7 separate regions of the Homo sapiens genome follow, and all the other regions are linked to region 7. The links are contacts of gene promoters, found by promoter capture Hi-C in blood cells and fetal thymus (Javierre and others, 2016). All regions are on one chromosome and are shown on one strand. Each heading gives the region's core, a stretch centred on a gene start or on the middle of the fragment in contact. The rest is flanking DNA. Distances are from core to core; before and after follow the strand shown.

Region 1 (3,801 bases), core at 356-2,855, 500 kb before region 7:
GGTTTATCAGGACACAACCCCATCATAAGTTAAGGAACATCTGTAGGGCTAAGTGAGATGGATAATGTCCCTGATCTCATAGTGCTTATATCCTAATTGGGGAAGACGAATAACAACCAAAGCAAAAAGATAATTTCAGTTGGTGATAATGCAATTAATCTGGGGAAGGGTAATGTGATAGCATTATCAGAGTCTTTCTAAGGGTTCCCCACAATGCATTAGCAATAAACTAACAAACAGAAAAAAATAAAGAAAATGTTCATCCCGAGATTGTAATACAGTTTAATTATCTGTAACCTAATTAGCAGTTTCTGGGTATGAGTAAACACAATTCATGGTGTGGGCAGGGCTTTCCCATTTTGTGCTTTGAGTCTTAGCTTTGTTAACACTGAAACTGATCTGGTGGGGTAGATTTTTTTCCCCTACCTTATTAGCTTTTTAGGGAAGTAAAAATGGAATGTGCTAGCATTGGTGGTACAGGTACTTTGCTGGTCCACATGCAGTCTATTAACACCATTCCTAAGACACAGCCATTGATGTACTCAAAGAAAATGAGTTTGATGGGCACCTTGGTTGATTCAATGCCTTCACTATTGTGAATAGCACTCTGATGAACATATGAGTGCATATGTCTTTTTGGTAGAACAATTTATTTTCCTTTGACTAATGGAATTGCTGGCTCAAATGGCAGTTCTAAGTTCTTTGAGAAATCTCTGAACTGCTTTCCGTAGTGACTGAACTAATTCACATTGCCACCAGCAGTGTATAAGTGTCCCCTTTTCTCCATAGCCTCACCAGCATCATTTGTTTTTTGACTTTTTAATAATAGCCAGCTGAGGCCAGGTGCGATGGTTCACGTTTGTAATCCCAGGACTTTGGGAGGCCAAGGCAGGCAGATCACTTGAGGCCAGGAGTTCAAGACCAGCCTGGCAAACATGGCGAAACCCTGTCTCTACAGAAAAAAATACAAAAAAAATTAGCCAGGCCTGGTGGTGGGCACCTGTAATCCCAGCTACTCGGGAGGCTGAGGCAGGAGAGTCGCTTGGAGCTGGGAGGGAGAGGTTGCAGTGAGTGGAGATCGCACCATTGCACTCCAGCCTGGGTGACAAGAGTGAAACTCCATCTCAAAATAATAATAATAATAATAATGATAATAGCCAGTCTGACTGATATGAGATAGTATCTCATTGTGGCCTTGATTTGCATTTCTCTGATGATTAGTGATGTTGAGCATTTTTTCATATGTTTGTTGGCCACTTGTATATCTTCTTTTGAGAAGTGTCTCTTCATGCCTTTTGCCCACTTTTGAATGGGGTTATTTGTTTTTGCTTGTTAAATTGTTTAAGTTCCTCATAGATTCTGGATATTAGACCTTTATGAACATTTTATCCCATTCTGTAGGTTGTGTGTTTACTCCGTTCATAGTTTCTTTTGCTGTACAGAAGCTCTTTAGTTTAATTAGGTCTCACTTGTCAATTTTTGTTTTAGTTGCAAGGGTAGATAGGTTAATGAAATGTGGTACATACATGCCATGGAATACTATGCAGTCATAAAACAGAACAAAATTTTGTCCTTGGCAGCAACACAGATGCAGCTGGGGGCCATTACCCCAAGCATATTAATGAAGGAAAAGAAAACCAAATACCACATGTTCTCACTTACAGTAGGAGCTAAACATTGGGTACTAATGGACATAAAGATGGCAACAATGGACACTCGAGACTACTAGAAAGGGGAGGGCAAAAGGGTTGAAAAACTTAACTACTGGGTACTATTTTCAGTACCTAGGTGATGGGATCAATAATATCCCAAATCTCTGCATCACAAAATATACCCAGCTAACAAACCTGTAGATGTAGCTCCTGAATCTAAAATAGAAGTTGAAGTTATTTCTTCAAATGAAAATAAGTTTGAATTAAGAGAATCAAGGAACTAGATATTTTACAGTCCTACATTTCTGGAAGGCTTCACTTACTTAATTTCTTCTGAAGAAAGGGCATTTTTCATAAGAGAATTAGAAAGACCACTCTTCTTTTGCATACATAGCATGGTTCTCTGTGATATCCCATGAATGTTCTGTTGAGACCCTTCCACATTCTTTTGAAATTAGCAATGATTTCCTTGAAAGAGGAAATTCTGTCTTAATTTCTTCGTTTATTTATCCTCTCACACAATATCCTGCCCATAGTACATGCTTAATAAATATTTGTTAAATAAGTGAATGTCAGATTAAGAGACCAGTGTCTACATTTGAAACCCAGCTCTGCAACCTACTAGCAGTGTGATCTTGGTCAAGTTACTTAATTACTCTCAACCACTACATTGTTACTTTAAAATTAATATTAAGTTTCCGAAATGGTGACTCTTGATAAATTAGAATAGACACATAGCCATTGACAGCTAATGCTGGCAACACTGTGTGTGTGTGTGTGTGTGTGTGTGTGTGTGTGTGTATAATGTATACATATATACATGTATATGTATATATATTAGTTATATTTGTATTATGTATTTTAATTAATTTCAATCATTTGTAGGCATACATATATGTGTATGTACATATGTATGTATATATATGCACATGTGTATATATGCCTACAGATGTGTATATATACGCCTACATATATATACATGTATATACACACACGTGTATATATATGTGTGTATATATATATATATATATATACACACATATATATGTACACACACACACATATATATATGTGCCTGCAAATGCAATCCTTCCCTCATAGAGGTTATTTGCCTTTAGATAAAATCTGGGAAAAGTGAAGATCATTACTGCTAGAATTCAATTTGAATATATTTTTACTTAAATACTGACTTTTTAAACTTTGCTTTCTTCTAAGACAAATTTCTTAGTTGGCCAACAATAACTGGCAATGTCTAAGCATCTATGATAACTTATCAAGAGTCACCACTTTGAAAACTTAATAATATTAGTTTTAAAATAATTATGTGGTGGTTGAAGTTTATTAGTGGAAATGAGGCAGGAGGACAGAGGAAAGAAACAGCAAACTTGATGTATTTTATGACCTAAAGGTCTAATGCCAGAAGAGCTAATCTTACAATGCCTGTTCATGAAAAACTCATTGAAAAGTCCCATGATATTAATAAGTTAAATGTCCTTACCTACAATGAATCCCAGTAGAAATTTTACAATAAATTTGTCTTCAGTGAAAGGTACTAGGGTAGAGAAAGGAAAAAAATCACATAAATTAAGAGTTTTTGCCATTTTTTATGTTTGTCACATATTTGTGGACTAAGTAGATGAGGAATTATTGATATAGAATTCAACAAAATTCAATGAGATATAATTTTAATTATAATTATAATTTTAGAGCATAAGATTTATTTGGCAAAATGGGAACATATAGTGGTTGGGATGCACCAGTGTTTAAAAATGAATAATAATAAGATAATATTTTGGTTAGGACAATCAGCTTAACATCAAAAGCCATTTGTTTAGACTGTAATTTAACAGAAAATATAATGCTAATATTCAGTTTATATAATAATCCCTTTAAGTGGTAGAAATTATAGCCTTTAAGAGTCAAACCTCTTCTTTTTTAACTTCTAGGGAGAGCCTTATCTGCTCTCAAAAGGTCTTAAATAACCATCTGATCTTTCTAAATCTATATCAGTCCTAATTCTAGGGTGTCTCGTCCTTCAGCGAACATAAAAGTTTATAAATAGATTTAGAAATAGCAACAACAAGTGATTCCTCCTTCTAAAATGCATTGTTACCTTGGATAACAAATAACTGAAAGATTTCCAACTACT
Region 2 (3,600 bases), core at 324-2,823, 430 kb before region 7:
CGGGTGCCTTTTTGATGCTTACATTGTCTATACCAACTTCTGCTATCTTAGAAAATTCTCCACTTATTCTCCCAAATTTTCTGCAGCCTTTCAATATGTCACCTGAACTAAAACAGATAACCTTCCTAATGCAAAATAACTTAAAGATTGCACCATAAAATCTATTTTAGAAAAAGTTTTCAGTGACAGGGATATGCATTTCATTAAAACTTTACCAGAATGTGATGTTATTAATGTAGGCTCTTAATTGAGGTGACAATTGGATGATCAATAGCCTGACACCTGTTAAATTTGTGTATGTTTAGTCATTGACAACTACTTATCAACTTACCTTCTCCCTGGTGGCAGCAAATTTCATTTGACATTGATTGTAAGATACATTCAGATTTTTCAAATAATCAAATATAGGGAAGGTTATTTTATGTGGGGGGATAATGAGTAATTAGTGGGTATGATGTACATTATCCAGGTGATGGATATCCTAAAGCTTTGAATTAACCACTACACAATCTATGCATGTAACAAAATTGCATTTGTACTTCATTCATTATACAAATTTTTTAAAAAGTTATTTTACAATGGAAACAGGAATTCTCCTAGTTAAGATTTTAAGCCTAAGCTTTACTTTGCTAATCAGTGTGCTTTTCAAGAATATTTAAATGATTAGTTAGATTCATCTGAACAGGGGAAACAGTGTCTTAAATAGAATTTTGAAAAAAGAATAAATTTTACTATTGTATGAAAGAAATAGTACAGCTTCTGAATTAATGGAGCGTCTATTTACATCTCACATGGTAGTACCCATAATTAGCATGTTCTTAGTAAATGTGTTTGTTTCCTAAACAAAAACGTATAAGCTAATTCAATAATTAAGGCTTAACTTCCTTTTCCTCAACAAACCATGGAATTAGTCAAAAGATACAGAAGGAGGTTTATCAGACAGAAAGCTACAGGATTAAGTGTGTAAACCAAATTAATACCAGAAATTGTTTAGCTCTGTTTAATTTCAGGAGGGCATGTTCCACAGTGATAACTTTAGAGCATATTCAAGAATTGATTGTTTCTATTAATAAGATATGCCAATGCCTGTTTTATTTGGTAGGTTAAGAACCATCTGATGAGTTATTCTTATCCCATACAGATAGTACAAAGAATAGAAGAAGGGAATGCAAAACTTTCTTTATAATTCATCTTATAACTAATCTCATAATGAGTATTTATTAATCATATTTTATATATATATATATATTTTTTTTTTTTTTTGAGACAGTGTCTCAATCTTTTGCCCAGGCTACAGTGCAGTGGCGTGATCTCAACTCACTGGAACCTCCACCTCCCAGGTTCAAACAATTCTCCTGCCTCAGCCTCCTGAGTAGCTGCAATTACAGGTGAGTGTCACCACACCCAGCTAATTTTTGTATTTTTAGTAGAGACAGGGTTTCACCTTGTTGGCCAGGCTGGTCTCAAACTCCTGACCTCAAGTGATCCGCCTGCCTCAGCCTCCCAAAGTGCTGGGATTACAGGCATGAGCAACTGCGCCCAGCCATATATATTTAATAATATATTATTTATTATAAGTAATAAATAAAAATATTATAGTACTTATCAATAATCTTATAAATAATCTTACAGTAATCTGTTCATCTTATAAATAATCATTACCTACCCACCAAAGTTCTCCGATAAGTGTTATTTGAAGACTTAGGTAGACAGAAAAGCAAAAAGTAGTGGAGCTAAAGACTATTAAGTAACTTGCATCTTCATCCCATTAGAACCACTCCCTATCCACCGAAAAACATTTAGTCTGATTTATGGTCAAGTTGCAAGAAGGCAGCAAAGCCTCTGCAACGCAGAAGGCCAGCAACATCAAGAAGTTCTCTCTATTGTTTTCTCCCATTGAATCTGGCCTCTGAAGTGTTATGCCAAAGTAAGCATGGGATTTAGTCAAGGGAAAATCTCCTGGGATTCATTTCTTGGACTTGGAAAGTCTTATAGTGCATCTGCCTTATAGTGGCTGGGTTATGGAGCAGTGCCATGGCAACCAAGGTACAACTGCAGCTTCAGTCTCGCTGGCAGCATTGAGCAGTCATGGAACATAGGGACATCCCCCTAACAATTGCCATAGTCTAAATGTAGTGATATGAAGGCCACATAATGGTGGCAAAAACTGGAATAAAAAGGAATAAACAAATGGGGACAAAATTACAAAGAAGACTAACCAGAACTAGGAGAAGAGAAAGAGAAGGCAAAATCAAAAGCTATTTCCCTTTTGAAACCTATGAGACTGTGAATATAGCATTGCCATTAATAGCAATAGGAAAGTCATAAAGATAAATGTTTTGGGTCTCAAAAGATAGGTGAGGTTTGCAGTTTACTAAATTCGAAGGGCCAATCCATTTGGAAGTGTGAAGTTGGCTTGTCGGAGAATAGAAAAAAAAACTACTCAAGGGAGGATTTGGGAATTGGCATAAAGATGTCACTGAAACTGAAGAAGTACATGTGTTTTTCATGGGACAAAGTACACAGATTAAGCTTCTGTAGATGGCTAAGGATAAAAGTTTCAAAAATATTTCTATTTAGCAGAAGGTGGAGGAAAAAGAGGCATCTAAAAAGACAAAATTCTGGCAGCTGGTATATCCTTCACTTGCCTGTGAGCCGTGAGCCCTCCACACTTTGCCCACTCCAGTTCTACTCTGTCCGATGCTTCCACCATGGCCCAAGCTGGCATTGCACTGATTGGACTGGCTGTCATGGGCCAGAACTTAATATTGTGCATGAATGACCATGGCTTCATGGCCTGTGCTTTTAATAGTACAGTCTCCAAAGTTGATGATTTCTTGGCAACAAGGCAAAGGGAACCAAAGATGTTGATGTTCAGTCCTTGACGGAGATGGTCTCCAAACTGAAAAAGCCACAGGCGTATCATCCCTCTTGTGAAGGCTGGTCAAGCTGTTGATGATTTCATGAAAAAATTAGTACCATTGTTGCACACTGGTGATGTCATCATTGATGGAGGAAATTCTGAATATAGGGATGACACAAGACGATGTAGATACCACAAGGCCAAGAAAATTTTATCAGTGGAGAGCAAAGTTAGTGCTGGAGGAAAAGGATCCCAGTATGGCCTATCACTCATGCCAAGAGGGAACAAAAGCTGGCCCCTATCAAGGCAATCTTCTAAGGCATCACTGCAAAAGAAAGAACTGAGGAACTTTTCTCTGACTGGGTGGGAGAGGAGGGAGCAGGCCACGTTGTAAAGATGGTGTACAATGGGATACAGTATGGGGATATGCAGCTGATCTGTGGGGCTTACCACCTGATGAAACATGTGCTGGGCATGGAGCAAAACAAGATGGCACAGGATTTTAAGGATTGGAATAAGACAGAGCTCGACTCATTCTTGAATGAAATCAAAACAAGATGACGGAGGCCTTTGAGGACTAGAATAAGACAGAGCTCGATCCATTCTTGATTGAAATCACAGCCAATATTCTAAGATACTGATAGCAAATACCTGCTGCCAAAGATCAGGGACAGCACAGGACAGAAGGGCACCAGAAAGTGGACCACCATCTCCACCCTGGAAGATGGCATTCCTGT
Region 3 (3,883 bases), core at 763-3,262, 440 kb after region 7:
ACTAAAGAACATCTGGTGGCACCCTATTCTTTTAAAAATAAACCCCAAACACTGATAGTTAAAATATTTTACAATTTGGCCCAATTATCCATCCCACAGAAATAATGATTTTCTATGAGATGGTCTCACATCTCCACTTAACTCAAACTCCACTTAGCTAAAATTCTGTCTAGTAAAACTGATTGCTTAAAGTGATCTGTAATTTTCTCCCTACTTTGTTTCTGCTTTCCTACTCAATAGCTTGAAATTTTTATATGTATTTTCTGTCTTTCTCCACTCAAATGTTAGCTCCACTGGAGTGGGAATTTTGTCTATTTTGTTCACTGCAATATCTCTTAAAACTAGAACAGAGCTTTGCGCCATAGCAGACACTCAACAAACCCCTCACCTTGAGAGCTCAAATTGCCAATTCTGCTACCTATGTTCAAGCTAAAGTTATCGTTCTCCAACTCTGACTTTCTAATGTGAATTCTTTGATAATTCATAATTATCTCACAGTATTGTCTCTCTTGCCATACAAATAAATAAATAATTCAATTGTTATTTAACTTTTCTCCACCATTATAATGGTCTAGTACAGTGCTGTCAAATAGAACTTTCTACGACGATAGAAATAGTGTGTATCTGTAATGTCCAACAGGGTAGCTACTACCTACATGTAGCTATTGAAATCTTGAAATGTGGCTAGTAAAACTAAGGAAGAACTTTTAATTTAATTAGGTTAACTTTAAATTAGTCACATGTGGGAAGTGGCTATACTATCAGACAACTCAGGTCTAGCACAATCTTACCTTTCCCTAGCTCACCTAACACTGACCACACCTCTAGCATTTGCCACTGCTGACCACTCCTTTTCTGAAAACTCTGTCCTCTCTTAGTTTCCAACCTATTTTCTCTTTCTCCTCCCTCTCTCTGCATCCTAGAATCTCTTATTTCCATTCAACATGATTTCCCCATGTGATTCCATTGACTTGATTTTTTAAAGAGCTCAGTTCACTAACTCCCCAAATCAGTTTCCTACCTTAACCACTCCTGAGCTGCAGACCCTCAAGGCCATTCCAATGATTCTCCTGGTGAATTCATTCTTCTTATATAAAGCATGACATCCTTGATAAGGGATTTCCTGACCTCCCACTGCAGGCATAACAAATAGATATTCCATCTGTCTTGTCACTGCATCTTTCTATTATCAGGTCGGATTGCAGGGGAGAGCCCACAGAGCTCCATGTGTTCCTAGCAACACTGACTCTGTACCTCCACCTTCCTGAGTAGGAGGAAAGACCCTTCACTCACCCTTTCCCACAACCCCAAACGCTTACAGACTAACCACCGTCTGCCCAACAGATATGCAAGCTTTACACTCAGTTCTTATTTTTTGCCTAGAAAACTTCCTTTAGGATTCTGCTCAAAAGCTACTTCATCACAATACTTCCATAATATTCCCAAAACAGCAATCATCCCCTATTTTGTTACTCTCTATCCTTCTTACCCTGCTTTATTTTTCGTCACAGCAATCATCTCGTAACACAGTTCATATTTATATATTTTTTCTTTCTCTACTGAAATGTTAGCTCCACTGAAGTGGGAATTTTGTCTATTTTGTTCACTGCTATATTCCTTAAAACTAGAACAGAGCCTGGCACCATTGTGGACACTCAGCAAATACTGAATGAATAAAGACAAGAAAAGAAAAAAAAAAGGCTTAGTGATTATAACCCTAATACCTAGCAAAGTCTTTGGCCATCTGATAAGCCCAAATTCCATCACTAAGAATTCCCTCATTCTTTTCCTTAAATAGTTCTGTCCTGCATAAAATAACATTGTTACAGATTCACTATCAGTTTTTGGTAATGAAACATGAATTACATTTCTTCTGGCACTGGTGGTCTCTTGCCATGATTAATCCAACCTCCTTTATCAAGGTCTTCACATACAAGAGAAGCTCAAAATTAACCAATATGATTTTCACTTGTAACTAATGGCATGCATCTGGTGAGACTGCTGGCGGACTCTGTGGTTAGGAAACCAGAAAAACTTTACTGCCCACTAAAAGAATTAAAGCTATAACCTTGAGCTTTGACTTCATTAACATTTTCCTCTAAATCTGGCCTAACGAGCCACAGTTGCCTGAAAAGGTTATGAAATAGCACAACCGAAACCATATTATCACATCATAATCATGCCAGGTGATATGAGAACTGGTTATATGAGACAGCATATACATGAACATTTCAGTGTCTGATGCTTCATCTTACGACCTGTTTCACGCATTTCAATTGTCAATCTGAAATAAAAGCATCTTACTTGAAATTTCATTTTGGCCAATTCTTTGCATGCTTATATAGAGATATGTGAGCCTACATTCTAGATTAAATCATGACTGAGATCTAAATTAAGACATAAGAGCTGCAAAAAAATACCTTCATTCCTTCTAGATTTCTATTCCATTTCTAACAAATCACTGATTAGTATATCACACTGCACAGCATCAAGCCACAGGCAAGACTGCTAATAATAACATGGAAACGTCAACCCCCATGACTCATCAATCTACCACACATAAGAATGCAGTTAGCAACTGTTCCTCATGTCTCTGCAACTACATGGTGCTCAAATGTCAAAATATTCAGCCTAGATAGAAAAGTCAAAATTATTAATAGTTACAGGAAAATAAAGCTTTGGATTAAATAAAACAGATCACGTATCACATATTTTTCAATGTATACCAAAAATTATATTAGGTAATGAATATAAAAACTAATGAATATAACAACTTTAAAAAGATGCTTAAAAGTCTAGGTGTAATATAGATGAGTTTATAACCCAAAAAAAAGCCCTCTCTTTCAATAAGAATAAGAGAATTAGAATATTTACATTTAGATCCTAGTGCTGCCCACTGTCTGGCTAACTGACTTTATGCAAATTACCCTTTCAGAGCCTCGGTTTCTTCATCTCTTAAAAACAGAGTAACATCTACCTTACAGTATTATAGAAAGGATTAAATGAGAAACTGTATGGGACACCAAGCCTCTGTACACCTCCACTTGGATACACATCTCAAACTCAGTATGTCCAAAACCGACTTCATCTTCCCTTTCTCTGCCCCTGCTCTTCTTCCTATATTTTCTCCCTTAAGGAATGGTACCTCCCACCAAATCACACAACACAGAAACCTGTAAGTCGCTCTAAATTTCTCCTTCACTTTTATTTTCCTCATCTATATTCTCCTCCACTCCTAATATTAAGTCCAGGACAAGGTCCTAAAGCTCTACGTAGTCTCTCATATTTACCCTTTATTTCTCATATCCACAGTTACTGCTACTACCTGCCACCTGAATTTCTTACACTTAAGCAATTTATCTTCCATACCGATATCATAGAGAGCCTTCTAAAGTTGTTCAACAACATGGTTGAGTCACTTCAATGATTCTGCACTCCCACAGCCTACCAAAATTGGAGAGAAAAACATTTAACCCCATCTTCAAGGCTCTTCACAATTTTGTCAATCTTATGTCATGCATTCCTCCAAACACCCATCAATCCTACACTTCACAAATGTGACAAACTGAAAATGACTTTCACTTCTTCAAACATACCATGTTGTTGAACAATTTACTTGTTACTCTCACAGCTCCTTTTGCCTACAATGCCATTCTCACCTTCACCAGGCAAATACCTAAGTTCCTTTCAACACTCAGGTTAAGCATTACCTTGTCTTAAAAAACTTTTTTGATACTGACTTTTCAACTCCACTCAAATAACTGACTCTTCTGATCCCCTCTGCATCGTATATGGTCATCTATAACAATGTTATCTCATCCAGTATGAATTAACGCTAAACACATAATGCCCTAAAACTCATAGAAAGAAAATGTAATTCGAT
Region 4 (3,478 bases), core at 785-3,284, 350 kb before region 7:
GATCAAGCTAAATATCTACTATCTGATAATCAAGGCAATTATTAACAGCTAGAGTATTCATTTGTTCTAGGCAACATTTTAAGAATGACATTCTGGAAACGATTTAAAAGACAACAATAAAGATAAAGAAGGTTCTGGAAAGATGGTCATATGAGAAGACATGGAATTGTTAGCCAAAAGAGAAGGCACAAAGGTGGTATAGGTGCTGCCCTTGAGCAATTGAATGCTTGTCACACAGGAAAGAGAATCCTTATTCTATGCTATCCAAAGAGAAGGACTAAGGTCAAAAGGGAGGACTTAAAGGGAGATAGGATGCCCCAATGTAAGCATGAGCAGGAAGTTGAGCTATTCAGCAGAATTCACTATTTAAGAAGTGATACACTCCAGCCACTAATTATGTTCAAACCGGTTGCAAAAAATTTTAAATTATAGTTAAAATGCAAGTCCAGGCCAGGCGTGGTGGCACACAACTGTCATCCCAACACTTTGGGAGGCCAAGGTGGGTGGATCACCTGAGGTCAGGATTTCAAGACCAGCCTGGCCAAAATGGTGAAACCATGTCGCTACCAAAAATACAAAAACATTATCCAGGTGTAGTGGCATACACCTGTAGTCACAGCTACTCAGGAGGCTGAGGCAGGAGAATCACTTGAACCCAGGAGGCAGAGGTTGCAGTGAGCCAAGATCATGCCATTGCACTGCAGCCTGGGTGACAAGAGCGAAGCTCCATCTTAAAAAAAAAAAAAAAGAAAAAGAAAAAATGCAAGCCCACACATTTCTACGGTACTTAATGAAAAGTTGTCACAGGACCTTAAGAACGCAAAAGCTTGGTTTAGCCATTACTTTTTGTTTTTGTTTTTTTAAAAGGAAGGTGTTTTGTGAATATTTATATGTTATTTATAAAATGTAAGTTATAGCTATATCTATGCTATATCTTGTCATTAAAATTTGGGTATTTATCTAAATATATTTCCTAAAAAGGGCAAAGAGCTTTCTCAAGAATTTTTTGATGTAACAGTTCTAAAGACTACCGATGTGTAACTTTGAGATGACGAATGTCTATTATAAGACGTTATATTTGTTGGAATTAGTTGAAAATTCTGAGTGTTCTAGAACAGAGGCCTCAGAAATAACACCACACATCTACAACCATCTGATCTTTGACAAACCTGACAAAAACAAGCAATGGGGAAAAGATTCCCTATTTAATAAATGGTGTTGGGAAAACTGACTAGCCATATGAAGAAAACTGAAACCAAACCCCTTCCTCACACCTTATACAAAAATTAACTCAAGATGGATTAAAGACATAAACGTAAGACCTAAAACCATAAAAGCCCTAGAAGAAAACCTAGGCAATACCATTCAGGATATAGGCATGGGCAAAGACTTCATGACTAAAACACCAAAAGCAACGACAACAGAAGTCATAATTTACAAATGGGATCTAATTAAACTAAAGAGCTTCTGCACAGCAAAAGAAACTATCATCAGAGTGAGCAGGCAACCTACAGAATATGAGAAAATTTTTGCAATCTTTCCATCTGACAAAGGGCTAATATCTAGAATCTACAAAGAACTTAAACAAATTTACAAGAAAAAAACAAACAACCCCATCAAAAACTGGGCGAAGGATATGAGCAGACACTTCTCAAAAGAAGACATTTATGCGGCCAACAAACGTATGAAAAAAACCTCATCATCACTGGTCATTAGATAAATGCAAATCAAAACCACAATGAGATAACATCTCATGCCAGTTAGAATGGTGATCATTAAAAAGTCAGGAAATAGCAGATGCTGGAGAGGATGTGGAGAAATAGGAATGCTTTTACACTGTTGGTGGGAGTGTAAATTAGTTCAACCATTGTGGAAGACAGTGTGGCAATTCCTCAAGGATCTAGAACCAGAAATACCATTTGATGCAGCAATCCCATTACTGGGTACATACCCAAAGGATTATAAACCGTTCTACTGTAAAGAAACATGCACATATATGTTTATTGCAGCATGGTTCACAATAGCAAAGACTTGGAACCAACCCAAATGCCCATCAATGATAGACTGCATAAAGAAAACATGGCACATATACACCATGGAATACTATGCAGCCATAAAAAAGGATGAGTTCATGTCCTTTGCAGGGACATGGATGAAGCTGGAAACCAACATTCTCAGCAGACTAACACAGGAACAGAAAACCAAACACCACATGTTCTCACTCATAAGTGGGAGTTGAACAATGAGAACACATGGACACAGGGAGAGGAACATCACACACTGGGGCCTGTCTGGGGGTTGGGGGCTAGGGGAGGGATAGCATCAGGATAAATACCTAATGTAGATGACGGGTGATGGGTTCAGCAAACCACCATGGCACGTGTATGCCTATCTAACAAACCTGCACGTTCTGCACATGTACCCCAGAACTTAAAATATAATAATAAAAAAAAAGTGTGGTCCCAGCTGCTCAGGAGGCTGAGGCAGGAGAATGGTGTGAACCCAGGAGGCAGAGCTTGCAGTGAGCTGAGATCACACCACTGCACTCCAGCCTGGGCGACAGAGCGAGACGCCATTTCAAAAAAAAAAAAGGAAAGAAAATTCTGTGTGTTCTAATAAAGTTGTAAATTATGTTTACATAGGAGGCAAAGTTTGCTGATCAATCCTATGGAAATTAGTCCAATTTAAGACACCACTGACATAACTCAACCTCTATAAAGTACTAAGTAAATTCTCTTAGAATTAGAAATATATCTAAAAGCATTCTTTCTTGTAAATATTATTTTGCAAGACAAATATGACTTTAACAGATTAATTATAAGAGGCAATGCCTAAATCTTTTTTTTTTCCAAAACATTTTTTCACACTTTTGCCAGGAATTCATTTTCTCCCTTTTCTATTTATCCGAGTACCACTTATCCAAGGCCCTATGCAAGCCTCTTTACCATGAAGCCTTCCCAGATTGTCTCAGCCTCTTTTAAGTTTACACCATAGTCCTGCCTGCACTACTCTATGCTACACAGTTCTTACCATAGGATTCCTAAGTATTCTTTATCCTTGTGTATATTTCTGTTTAACTATGTTGGCTTATCCCTGTTCTAGCACAGTGACTTGCATTAAAAGGCCATGGTAAATGCTAATTACTTGATTGAGAAAAGTTGGAAAATCCATAGATGGGAGAACTGGCCAGACCAGGGAGAATTTCTATCCCAGGTATTCTTTGCTATGTAACAAATTACCCAAAAGCTTAGTGGCTTCAAACAAGAATTTATTATGTTCAAGGATTTATTGGGAATTGGAAAGGAGACATTAGGGCTGGCTTCTCTCTGCCATGAGGTCTGGGGTCTCAGATGAGAAGACTAATCATCAATGGCTGGAGCTGGAATTATCTGAAGACTTACTCATATCTGGTGTTTGAGAGGAAAAGGCTCAAAGGTTAAGACTGCCAAGCGGAGCACCCATCTGTGGCTTCTCTGTG
Region 5 (3,556 bases), core at 986-3,485, 450 kb before region 7:
CTAACATTATACCTAATAGTGAGTTTGTGTTCAATAAGATTTTTACAAGAACTCAATTGAATCTTACTACTATTTGGGAACAAAGCATTAGAAAATGAGATGCTGGTGGTCTTTATATACTATGGGGCCCATCTGTTTGCTATTACCTGTTTCCCACCTGCTGTCATTACCAGCATAAAACTCCATCTGCTACTTCCTCTTCTCTTCCAAGCCTGACTTGGCACTAAATCTGTCAGACTCTACATTAGAGTTGACTAGTCAGCATTACTTTTCCGTAATGATTTTTCCTAATTACTACATCTTATTTTATTTTATTTGGTCCTCGAGAGTATCCTTAAGACGTGAGTCAGGTAACTAGCACTAAAATCAGGACAAATCTGTCAAAACTGTTTTTTAAAAAGCATTAAACAAGCATTCAGATTTGAAATTGAAGTAGAGGTTACAGATGGGTGAGTGTGACCTTGGGAAATCACTCAACGTTTCTGGTTCTCAGCATTCTTTCCTTTATGATGAGAGAATTAAGCGCAGTGTCTCTGAGATCCCTTCCAAATGTAACATCCCTGATAGCAAAGGTTCATCCCTGAGGACATCCTCATCCACTGCATTTTATTCTCTCATCATAGAGGAGAGAATGCTGAGAACCATCCTCAATGGCATCGCCTTCACAAGTCTTTCCTGACCCCTATCCTGATCAAACTGAATCCCATCTTTCAACTTCTAAATGCTTAATTCTCACCTATGTTCCTGTCTTACTTTATCCTATACTGTCGTCAAGCTAGCTGTGCCTTACTCCATCACACTGCCTTCTCCCTCAAGTCGTGGGTTGCTGAAAGCAGTAATAATCTTTGCAACTCCCTCAAAGGTCTAGTAGAGTGTGTTATAGCTAGCACAGGCAGTACACACTGGACAAATTAATGAATGAACTGAAAAAGCATAATATCATAATGATTCTGTCCTGGAAGAAATAAAAACCAAAAATGCTACTGAACAAATCAGATAATTATAGAAATTTGAACTGGGCGTGGTGGCTCACATCTGTAATCTCAACACTTTGGGAGGCTGAGGTGGGCAGATCACTTGAGGTCAGGAATTTGAGACCAACCTGGCCAATATTGGAAAACCCCGTGTCTACTAAAAATACAAAAATTATCCGGGTATGGTGGCTTATGCCTATAATCCCAGCTGTCTGGGTTGCTGAGGCACAAGGATCACTTGAACCCATGAGGCGGAAGTTGCAGTGAGCTGAGATGGTGCCACTGCACTCCAGCCTGGGCAACAGAGTGAGACTCTGTCTGGAAAAAAAAAAAAAAAGAAAGAAAAGAAAAGAAAAAGAAAAAAAAAAAGAAATTTGAGCCATAGCCACCATTATGAATTTTAGTCACCATGGAAAGTGACTCCAGAAAATAAATGTAATATACAATTTAAACATAATAGCAACATATGGTATGTTTAATATGTAAATACAGAAGCCTATATAGAAGAAGAGGCCATGTTACAGAATGATCAGGAGTGTAGACTATAGAGATTGTACTTGATGCCTGGCTTTCATCATGACTCCGATACTTTGTATGAGCTAGGGGAAGTTATGTGACTTTCTATCTCAAATTTATCATTTGTAACATGGAAGTATCTAGTTCTTAGAGTTACTATGTGAAAAAAATGAATGTCTGGCACATGTTGAGTATCTGGCACATATTAAGTGCTTAAGAGATGGCACATATTAAGTGCCATTATTTTATATTCAGTACTAAAATATTTTAGTATGCTTGTTCTTTAGCCCACAAAATGGTAGTAATAATGAAAGTTTTCTCCTAGAACCACTGTGAGATTTTTCAGTGCTTATGGCTATTGAATACATTCTGGTTATATTATTGGATTCATACAAAAATATCTTAACTTAAAAATAGCTAAAAAGCGCTGAGGCATTTTAAAGGTGACCTGGATTCTTGCTCGTCTCAAGCCACTTTATTTTTCCAGGTTGAGAATCATGTAGTATTGGCTTTTTAAAAAACTAGCAAAATATATATTTATCTTCTAACTAATGGATGTACAGCAGACAGAAAGTTAATGAGTATTGTCTTAGTCTATTTGGGCTGCTATAATAAAAAATGTCATAGACCAGATGGCTTAAACAACAGACACTTATTTTTCACAGTTCAGGAGGCTGGAAAGTTCAAGATCGAGGCACGGGCAGACTGGGTGTCTGGTAAGGGCCTGCTTCCTGGTTTGTAGACACAGCTGTCTTCTTGCTGTGTCTTCACATGGTGGAATGGGTGAAGAAGCTCTTTGAAGTCTCTTTTATAATGACACTGATGCCATTCAATGAGGCTCCCCACCGTGAACTCCCAAAGGCCTCACCCACAAATGCCATTAGGTTGGGGATTAAGTTGCAACATATAAATTTGGGGGAAACACAAGCATTCAGTTTATAGCAAGTATGAATACTTTCTGAAAGTTTCTGAAAGAAAATTCTACCATATTCTTACTTCAGCAACACTTTCACTTTTGAGCCAACCAAACCATTTTCCAAAATCTGTCATGTAATGTTAATTCTGTGAGGTTGAAGTTAGTGATTAGGGCATCAGCTTTGTGATCAGACAGAAAGGAGGTCACATCCTGGCTCCACCACTTTCTAGGCACATGAAATTGAACATGTTACTTCACCTTTCTAACCTCAGCTTTTCCATCTATGATACAAGAATAATAACAGCTTCCTTACTCACAGGTTATCGTAAGGATTAAGAAAGATCACATAGATGGCATGATTGTGTGGCAGAGAATAAACGATCAATACACGGTATAGCTATTATTATTTCTGATGAAATACACTTGCCATTATGTCTGCAAAATGGTCAATTTTAAGTCCATTTCAGAATACTGCATTTCATAAAGAAGTTCCAGGTTTTCACAATACCAACTGATTGAACAATCAGAGGAAATTTTTTGTGAAAGGCAAAATTTTGCTTGAGCAGTAAGTAGTCTTTTTCACAAGATTTTACATATACTGGAATAGTAATATTATCACAATGAGTCTCAATATCATCTCTCTTGTTGATGAAAGACTGACAGTTCACATAATTGTTGCCTTAAATATGGACTTATACGTTCAGAGTAACAGGGAAAAGAATGTGCTATTCTGTCAAGGATATGAGGGTGTTCTTGAAGCAAGTGTATCTTCAACATCTTGTCCAGCTGAAGGAATATAAACTTTGACAGCATCTCCAGCTGACAGCATCTAGAATTGAAGGGGCTGCTTCAGGGTTGGCACAGGTATTTACATCACCCTCTTCTGCACCCCAGCCCCTCGCCTCTTTTTTGGCTTCTCACTCCACTGATAACTGCAGGATCAAGCCTGGGAAAGCACATGAAAAATTCACCAACGCAGAACAATGCAATCATACAACAAGGTGACATTTTAGGTAACTTAAACTATAAGAAGTGCCTCCCGAGAAACAGGAAATTATATCCAAAGTAGTTTGAGGGAAAAAATAGTTTCAGGCTGGAGTGCAGTATCGTAATCTCAGCTCACTGCAACCTCTGCCTCCTAGATTCAAGA
Region 6 (3,447 bases), core at 682-3,181, 340 kb after region 7:
AGAGAGAGACCTGTTCATAAGTGGAGACTAATTTTTTTTACTTGGCAAGAGAAACTTACTACATAGACTCTTAAACTCATGATAGTAAGTGTTGAAGTGTTGCTGGCTCAAGATGATAGGATGTAATGAAGGTAAAGCTCAGGAATCTACGCTTTTAGCAAGCTTCCTAGATGCGTCTTACACTGTTTAAGATTCACTGGCTTCATAAAGATCCATTAATGTAATGCAGTGCTTCTGAAGTTTGGATCCATGAATTATCAGAGAATTTTTATAATCAGAATCTCTGGGGTCAGGCGCAAGTATTGATATATTTTTTAAATGTTTCCCCAAAATATTTTAATGTATTGCTAGTGTTGAGAACCACTGGTTTAACAGAAAAGACTACTGAGGTAAAATGATTTCCCCTACTAGTTCTTTCTTCTGTTAAATAAAAGTATATCTATATCCTACCCATCTAGAAAGGCAGCATGTTAAAACCAGAAAAGGCTTTGGGATCAGATAGACATGAGTCAAGTCCTAGAGCTGCCACTTCTTAGCTGGTGCACTTAAAGTTATTTATCCTAAGTCTCATTTCCTCATCTTCAAATATGCTGAATTATATACTCTCACAAATTATCATATGTATGCCTTGGCAAAGCTTATCTCTGGAAAAAGAACATCAAATGGTTATGGCTGAGACAGAATTTTTAGAACTGGTACATATACATTCTTCCATCTTTGACAACCTCAAATTTGAGTGTAGAAGGGAAGGTACACAGACTTGAATTCCCATGACAGAGAATGATATGTATGTGCAAACATGTAGGGAGGACAAAGTTGCATAATAAGTACTAAGTGCCTAGCAAAATATCTCTTATACATAAGTCTCTTTCTCTTAACACAAAGATATAACAACAATAAAATAGGGAATGTGTATACAATATTTCTGATTCAAAAATATAAGCCATCTAGCAAGAAGTTCATGACTTAAGAACAGAAATGATAGCCTTAGTTATTACCCAACTAATAAATCCTATAGAAGCCAGTCCATCCAGTAACTTTACTTTTGTATCAGAGAATGGAACAGAAGTAGATTCTGCACCACTCCCTTTACCTAGAGTTCTAATGCTTAAATCAGGTTAGAAAACTGTTGCCAGGTAGAAACTAAGAGTCATTAATTAGTCCTGTAATCTTATTTAAACAAAAACGTTCTTTCTTTCTTTTTTTTTAAGGTGCTGGAACAATTGAGAAAGAAAAAAATGAGTAGTTTTGAGCTACAGAAAAGCAAGACGATTTATATTATATTTGACATTCATATACACAAAAACAGAATACTGTCACTTCCACAAATGATAAACTATTTTGCTGAATTAAGATATGACAGAAGGTGACAAAATGACCATATCATTAAGGAATTGAAAAACTACTCTCTGATCCTCATGAAGTTAGCTGTAAAACAGTATACTTACTTCTCTGATTCAAAATCTCCCTGTTCTTCAAATTTTACAGTGTGCCTTATTAATCTCCATTGCTTAATGTCAGGTGTTGGATTCCAGAAAACCTCTGAATTATCAGTCTTTTTATCAGTAATAAAAACTTCACTATCCTATATTTAAAAAAATTCAAAATTAATGTAAAGAATTATACTTAGAAGGCAATTATATAGTATAGTAATATGACGGTGATAATTTCTTCTGGTTAATCCTCCAGTTAAAAGCATTTTTAAAACAAATATAACTAGCACTTTTCCAAAAACTCCAAGTTTCTTATCATTTTTATAAAAACATTAAGATTGACTACGTAATACTAGTTAATTAAAAAGAATTTGGTTGAATATCCAGTTTGTGAAATTTCATAAGTTTTACTTAATAAATTTCAAACATTACATGCAAAGCCTCAATAACCATCTCCAAACTGTCCAAGTAGAGCATAGTATTTGTTGCAGCTACAATGAGATGCTGTTGACTATCCATGGATTCAATATACTCAAACATACACACACACACATCCCTCTGAAAGAGCCTTTACTAGCATTAAAAATTTGAGGTCTATCTCTATCGAATAATCTTTCTATCTAAGACATGGACGGTCTTGCTCTCTTGTGTAGGCTGGAGTGCAGCGGTGCTATCTACCTTATCTATCTAATCTATTTTACCTATCTAATTTATCTACCTGTTTAACCATCCTTCTCCTTCTCTCTCTCTCTGTCATCTCTCACTCTCATCTCTATCTTATCTATCTGTCTGAGACAGGGTCTTGCTTTCTCACCCAGGCTGGAGGGCAGTAGCACAATCATGGCTCACTGCAGCTTCCACCTCCCAGGCTCAAGCAATCTTCCTGCCTTAGCTTCCTGAGTAGCTGGGACAGGCATGTGCCATCATGCCCATCTAATTTTTTTATTTTTATGTTTAGTAGAGAAGAGGTCTTGTTATGTCACCCAGGCTGATCTCAAACTCCTGAGCTTCCCAAAGTGCTGGAATTATAGGTGTGAGCCACCCCACCCAGACAGAAATTTCATTTTTTAAAAATGACTGCTGCTTTATCTTTTTTCCAGAAGACTCTCAGATTTAAGGCAATTAAAAAAAATTTTCAGAGTGTATGTGGCCACTTAACAAAGTCCCTAACTTCACTTTCTCATATTTCTCAACATTTTCTGCTTACTGCATGCAGAAAGGAGCATATACTCAGTGCTCATAGTATGGTATATCCATGCAGTACCATGATTCTTTTTATTCATTTAAGCGTCTCTTAACAAAATTACATAAATATGAATTTAGGTTAGCAGAGAAGTAAATAAAAGCCATTGCTCTCACACACCACTATATCCTTTCCATGTTCCACTGAAAGGAATATAACTCTAATTGGAACTATGCCTCTTTCTTCTATGTGAGTAGAGTGCTGTGCATAAAAGCACAGTCCTGGGGCCAGGGTTCCTGGGCTTTAATTCTTGTTCCACTACCTACTTTGAGCAAATTATGTGAACTCTCTGTGCCTCAGTGTCCTCTTCTGTAAAATGGGGACAATAATAAACAATAATAAAATGGGCATGGCACCTATATACTCACCTCATAGCGTTATATGTTATAAATATTAAATCAGTTAATATGAGTAACATTCTTAAATAATGCAGTAAGTCATATATAAGTGTTAGCTATTTCTACTGATTTTAAGTTTTGGAAATAAAATATTACACAAAATTAACTACTGTTGATAACAGAACACCACCAAAATATCTGCTATTAAGATGAAGCTTATGTTAAATAGTGATGTTTTCAGCAACGGAATAAGTTTTAAATTTTAAATGTGATTTTTTTTTTCCCACAGAATAAAATTCTTTTTGTAAAGCTCATATACAAAATACTTACCCAATGACCTTCCAAAGTAGCTAGGACTTCTTTTCCCAGTTTAAGTTTCCCTGATATTTGATTAACACAGTCACTACTCCCTAGGAATGGCTTTTAAACGAGA
Region 7 (3,903 bases), core at 1-2,500:
GCTGCCCCTTTCAGGCAGAGTTGGAGGTGCTGCGGAGAAGCCGGTGCCCGTGCGGCTGCGAGTGCGGCTGTGGGTGTGGGTGCGGTATTTGGTGCGGATGCGGGTGCGGGTGAGGGTGTGGGTGCGAGTGAGGATGAGAGTGTGGATGTGGATGTGGATGCGGATACGGGTGGAGCTGCTGGGGCTGAGGCTTGGGTTGGGGCTGAGGCTGGGGTTGTGATTGGGGCTGGGGTTGCGGCTGAGGCTGAGGCTGGGGTTGGGGCTGGAGCTGCGGCTGCGGCTGCGGCTGCGAGGGGGGCTGCTGCTGGACCAGGTGCTGCTGCTTCTGCCGCGTGGATTTGACCGCCAGGATGGCCTGACGATTCTTGTACTGCACCATCTGCAGCGTGATCTCGGCGTTCCAGCCCTGGTCTTGCGGGCACCGAAAGTCGATCTCCTTGCCCTCTGCCATCACCACAGTGAAGTACATGTACTTGCCCTTGCGCTCCACACAGTCCACGGTCTTCATGTTGGAGAAGTGCAGTTCCTTGAGCTTGACCGGCGGCTCGAGGCTGGCGACAGCGGGGCCACTGGGTTGGGACGGCTCGGCCGGCCCCTGCCCGGGCTGTTGTTGCTGCTGCTGCTGCTGCTGTTGCTGCTGCTGCTGCTGGTGTTGCAGCTGCTTGGGCGGGATAAGCAGCAGCCCTTCCTCGGTGAGGATGCAACACTTTTTCTTCCAGAGCTGCAACAACCCGTCGCTGCGCTTCTCCAGCACGCCCTCCTTCAGCGCTTTGCAGCCGCTACTCTCCAGCATCCTCCCAGCATAAGAGGGGCCGCCGCTTGGCTCGGCCTCTCCGTTTCCAGCCGCGCGGGCCGGGGGCAGCAGCAGCAGCCTCGCGCCGTCCTCGCCCCAGCGGCTCCCACGGCCGCCTGCCCGGAGCGCGCAGAGGAGGCTAACACGCAGGAGGCAGAGCGGCGGCGGCGGCTCTGGGTCCCGGCAGAGGGACAGCCGCGTCCTGATGCGCCACAAGGTCCCGGAGCTCCGAGCTGCCGGGCCTCTGCCGTCCTCTTGCGAGCGCTCACTGAAGGGCACTGGCCGGGCCCCCTCGCGGCGCTTTTGAATGGGCCATCTTCCCCACCCCCGAGTGACACCCAGCGGAAAAGGCGGCTCCTGGCGCCCGCACCGCGGGGGAAAGCCCAGCTCCAAGAGGCGCTCGGCAGCCGGCGCACGCCTCATTAACTTGGGGCCTTTCCAAAGCCCGCTGCGTCCACGCCCTCCAGCGTCTCTTGCTCCGCCTCTCGCCGCCCACTTGCTTCCGCGCTCGTTCCCCTGGAAGGCGACCCGGACCCGAGCCCCGGAAACTCCTCTCCTCTACCCAGGGCGATCGCCCAAGGAGCCCTGGCTGCCTGACTACTGCCGACGCTCACAGGGCGCTGCGAGGCCATCCCCCGCGTCCCGCTTCTCCCCGGCCCGCGGGACTCTCTGCTAACAGCCTCAGAAAGTGAGGACGGGGGCGCGGAGGCGGGGGCAGCCTCCAGGCAGTGCTGCCTCTCGGTTCTTGGGAATTAGCCCGGGGGATTCGCGCTGGGCTCCGAGAGCCCGCAGAACCAGCGTCGTGTCCTGGGCGAGCTGGGAGGCCGGGGCCGAGTCCCGCGAGTCCCGCGAGTGTGCCTCCCCCGGACGCCTAGGTAAACAACTGAGCGCACAGAGGCCGAGAGGACATCGTGTCTTCCCACGCATATTCGCTCACGGTCACTAAGTAGCTCTTCTTGGAAAGAGGGCGATTGTTAAAGCAATAGTGCGACTGTCGGGCTTGCCACGGGTGGAGAGAGGCGGACCCACGTCAGGTCGCATCTCGCCTGCTTTTCTCGACCCCGACCGCAGGCGCTAACCCGTCTTCGGCTTTCTTCTTGACCCGTACGGTTTGCAACGTCTCTTAAAACAGTAACTCAACTCTCTACAAACCGGGGTAATATCCGGTGCTGAGATCCCACACTGCAAGGCGCAGTTCCAAACGTCTGGTCGGCCTCGCAGGTCCCTCTTTCCAAGGCCTAGCCAGATCTTGGTTTTGGAATCTCATTTATCTGTGACCTGGGGAATGCAATACCCCCAGCTCCCTCCTACTCCTACATTTAAACAATGCCTATAGAAGCCGCTTCCTGGGAAGTAAGGCATAACCGAGACCTAGCCTCCCGGTAGGGAAGTTCATCCGTTTAGTAAACAGCCCCAACTACGTGCGGACCCTCACGGGGATACGAAGAATTCAACCAGGGCTGGACAAGTCAGAGTGGGCCAAGGTAAGAGTTACGGCTGCTACTGTGCCCACGTTGGAACAGATAGATTAGTTCATCTGCTAGTTGTGTGGCAAGAGCAAAGAATTCAAGAGGGGAAGAGAAAGTGAGAGGAGCTTAGAGAGCTAAGCAAGAATCGAATCCTTTGTGTGTCATGGTAAGAAATTCGAACTTAATACCAAGGTAGTCAGAACAAAGGACAACTTTTATACACGAGGGCGTCCTGAATATTCATCTAAGAAACAATGTCTGATCAAACGGGACAATCCAGCCAGCAATCCTGAGTCCCACCGGATTATGCTTGGCCAGCTTTCTAGCCTTCACATTGTTAATTTATTAGCAATCTTTTCAGGAGAAAGGCAATTATTAAAATTATGTGGACTTCTAGTAAAATTATCTCGAAGATTTACAATTATGTATACCAATAACAAAAAAACTACATGTTTTCTGCTCCCCTGCCTTTGTAGGACAAGTGAGCATTCCAGAGAATTTCTACATGACCAGCTGTTCATTCTTTTAAGAGGATGACATTCTTCAGCTCATCTGGAAAGGATACTTCCTTTAAGTCTGTTATTCACAGTCTCCAAGGGCAGGTGTAGTTGGGAAAGACATTTCATATGGAAAAACAAACTTGATAGGGTAAAAAAAAAAAAAATGAGATGTAATCTGGAGGCCCAAGTCATTTTCTTAGGAGAAACTCAAATGTGTTTGGTGTTATCTAACCTTCTGCAGTTTATCAGTCTGAAACAAATGCATTCTATTCTCATTTGAAAATGTCTGAACAGCCACCAATTTTCAAAATCACCCATTTAACTAGAGACTTTAAAGCCCAGAATTTGCAGTTACGTATTTCAGAATGATTTAGTAATTTTGTGAGCAGCTCAGAGGTTAAGTCTACAATGTCTGACTACGGTGCATTATTGAAAATATCAGTAGTGTAAGGATCCCGTAGATTGGTGATAACTTTGCTCTTGTTATTTCAACAGTTACCACCAACAGTTGGTGACTTAACAAATTAAGAGCATAGTTGCCATATGCTCATATTTGGCAAATATGTCAAAATGGCCATATTTGCCAATTTTTAAGACAATAAATTCACAGAAAATGCATTACAGAAAATAACTTAAAAAAAAAAAAAACAACTTTTGGGCCAGGCATGGTGGTTCACACCTGTAATACCAACACTCTAGGAGGCTGAGGTGAGAGGATCCCTTGAGCCCAGGAGTTTGAAACCAACCTGGGCTACATGGCAAGGCCTCCCTCTACAAATGTAAAAAAAAAATTAGCCAGGTGTGGTGGCATGCGCCATGTAGCCCCAGCTACTTGGGAGGCTGAGGTGGAGGACTGTTTGAGCCCAGAAGTTCAAGGTTGCAGGAGCTAGGATCGCACCACTATACAAGCCTGGGTGGCAGCAAGACCCTGTTTAAAAAAAAAAAAAAATTCAGCTGTATATGCAATGAAAACCTACAAGTCACTGAAAAGTTACTGAAGTTTAGAAAACTAGCCAACAAAATCATTGCTTTGGTAAACAAATTTGAAATGGCTAATTGAAAGTACATTTTACAGCTGGCAATATAAAGTTATCTATCAGCAGCACTGGACAGTTCATTTTCTTCTCTTGGATAAAGTTTA

The links. The method cuts DNA at HindIII sites, captures the fragments that hold promoters and counts their contacts. A CHiCAGO score of 5 or more calls a contact.
Region 1: a contact is called between a fragment that was not itself captured here and the fragment with the promoter of PHLDA1 in region 7, in 16 of 17 cell types (M2 macrophages, M0 macrophages, M1 macrophages and 13 more). The highest score is 54.0, in M2 macrophages.
Region 2: a contact is called between a fragment that was not itself captured here and the fragment with the promoter of PHLDA1 in region 7, in 8 of 17 cell types (M2 macrophages, M0 macrophages, M1 macrophages and 5 more). The highest score is 15.5, in M2 macrophages.
Region 3: a fragment that was not itself captured here is called in contact with the fragment with the promoter of PHLDA1 in region 7 in 1 of 17 cell types (endothelial precursors); the score reaches 6.1 in endothelial precursors.
Region 4: a fragment that was not itself captured here is called in contact with the fragment with the promoter of PHLDA1 in region 7 in 3 of 17 cell types (M2 macrophages, M0 macrophages and M1 macrophages); the score reaches 9.8 in M2 macrophages.
Region 5: a fragment that was not itself captured here is called in contact with the fragment with the promoter of PHLDA1 in region 7 in 10 of 17 cell types (M2 macrophages, M0 macrophages, M1 macrophages and 7 more); the score reaches 22.1 in M2 macrophages.
Region 6: a fragment that was not itself captured here is called in contact with the fragment with the promoter of PHLDA1 in region 7 in 3 of 17 cell types (M2 macrophages, M1 macrophages and endothelial precursors); the score reaches 6.1 in M2 macrophages.

Annotation. Positions count from the first base shown.
Region 1 is chr12:75,529,644-75,533,444 of GRCh38, forward strand. It overlaps LOC105369844 (a long non-coding RNA gene), which reads right to left. Exons shown (of 16, transcript XR_007063375.1): 13 at 3,151-3,204; 14 at 1,976-2,120. Among named protein-coding and RNA genes, the nearest start is that of KRR1, 20 kb to the left of the region's middle. The HindIII fragment of the contact is 6,873 bases long and covers 1-3,801 here.
Region 2 is chr12:75,597,336-75,600,935 of GRCh38, forward strand. The region is part of intron 9 of LOC105369844 (a long non-coding RNA gene); the gene reads right to left. It also overlaps the pseudogene PGDP2. Among named protein-coding and RNA genes, the nearest start is that of KRR1, 88 kb to the left of the region's middle. The HindIII fragment of the contact is 1,913 bases long and covers 618-2,530 here.
Region 3 is chr12:76,468,218-76,472,100 of GRCh38, forward strand. All of the region lies in intron 2 of OSBPL8 (oxysterol binding protein like 8), which reads right to left. Among named protein-coding and RNA genes, the nearest start is that of OSBPL8, 90 kb to the right of the region's middle. RefSeq lists an enhancer at 3,432-3,511. The HindIII fragment of the contact is 1,323 bases long and covers 1,352-2,674 here.
Region 4 is chr12:75,679,916-75,683,393 of GRCh38, forward strand. The region is part of intron 6 of LOC105369844 (a long non-coding RNA gene); the gene reads right to left. Among named protein-coding and RNA genes, the nearest start is that of KRR1, 170 kb to the left of the region's middle. The HindIII fragment of the contact is 2,420 bases long and covers 825-3,244 here.
Region 5 is chr12:75,579,540-75,583,095 of GRCh38, forward strand. The region is part of intron 9 of LOC105369844 (a long non-coding RNA gene); the gene reads right to left. Among named protein-coding and RNA genes, the nearest start is that of KRR1, 70 kb to the left of the region's middle. The HindIII fragment of the contact is 6,909 bases long and covers 1-3,556 here.
Region 6 is chr12:76,370,000-76,373,446 of GRCh38, forward strand. OSBPL8 (oxysterol binding protein like 8) reads right to left here. Exons shown (of 24, transcript NM_020841.5): 18 at 3,345-3,434; 19 at 1,449-1,585. Among named protein-coding and RNA genes, the nearest start is that of BBS10, 23 kb to the left of the region's middle. The HindIII fragment of the contact is 2,592 bases long and covers 636-3,227 here.
Region 7 is chr12:76,030,526-76,034,428 of GRCh38, forward strand. It overlaps PHLDA1 (pleckstrin homology like domain family A member 1), which reads right to left and starts at 1,251. Exons shown (of 2, transcript NM_007350.3): 1 at 1-1,251. The coding sequence starts at 1,216. The coding sequence ends at 11. PHLDA1-AS1 (PHLDA1 antisense RNA 1) reads left to right here. Exons shown (of 2, transcript NR_186034.1): 1 at 1-69; 2 at 386-853. PHLDA1-DT (PHLDA1 divergent transcript) reads left to right here and starts at 1,288. Exons shown (of 2, transcript NR_185978.1): 1 at 1,288-2,277; 2 at 2,739-3,864. RefSeq lists a silencer at 787-936 and an enhancer at 1,157-1,406. The HindIII fragment of the contact is 8,299 bases long and covers 1-3,903 here.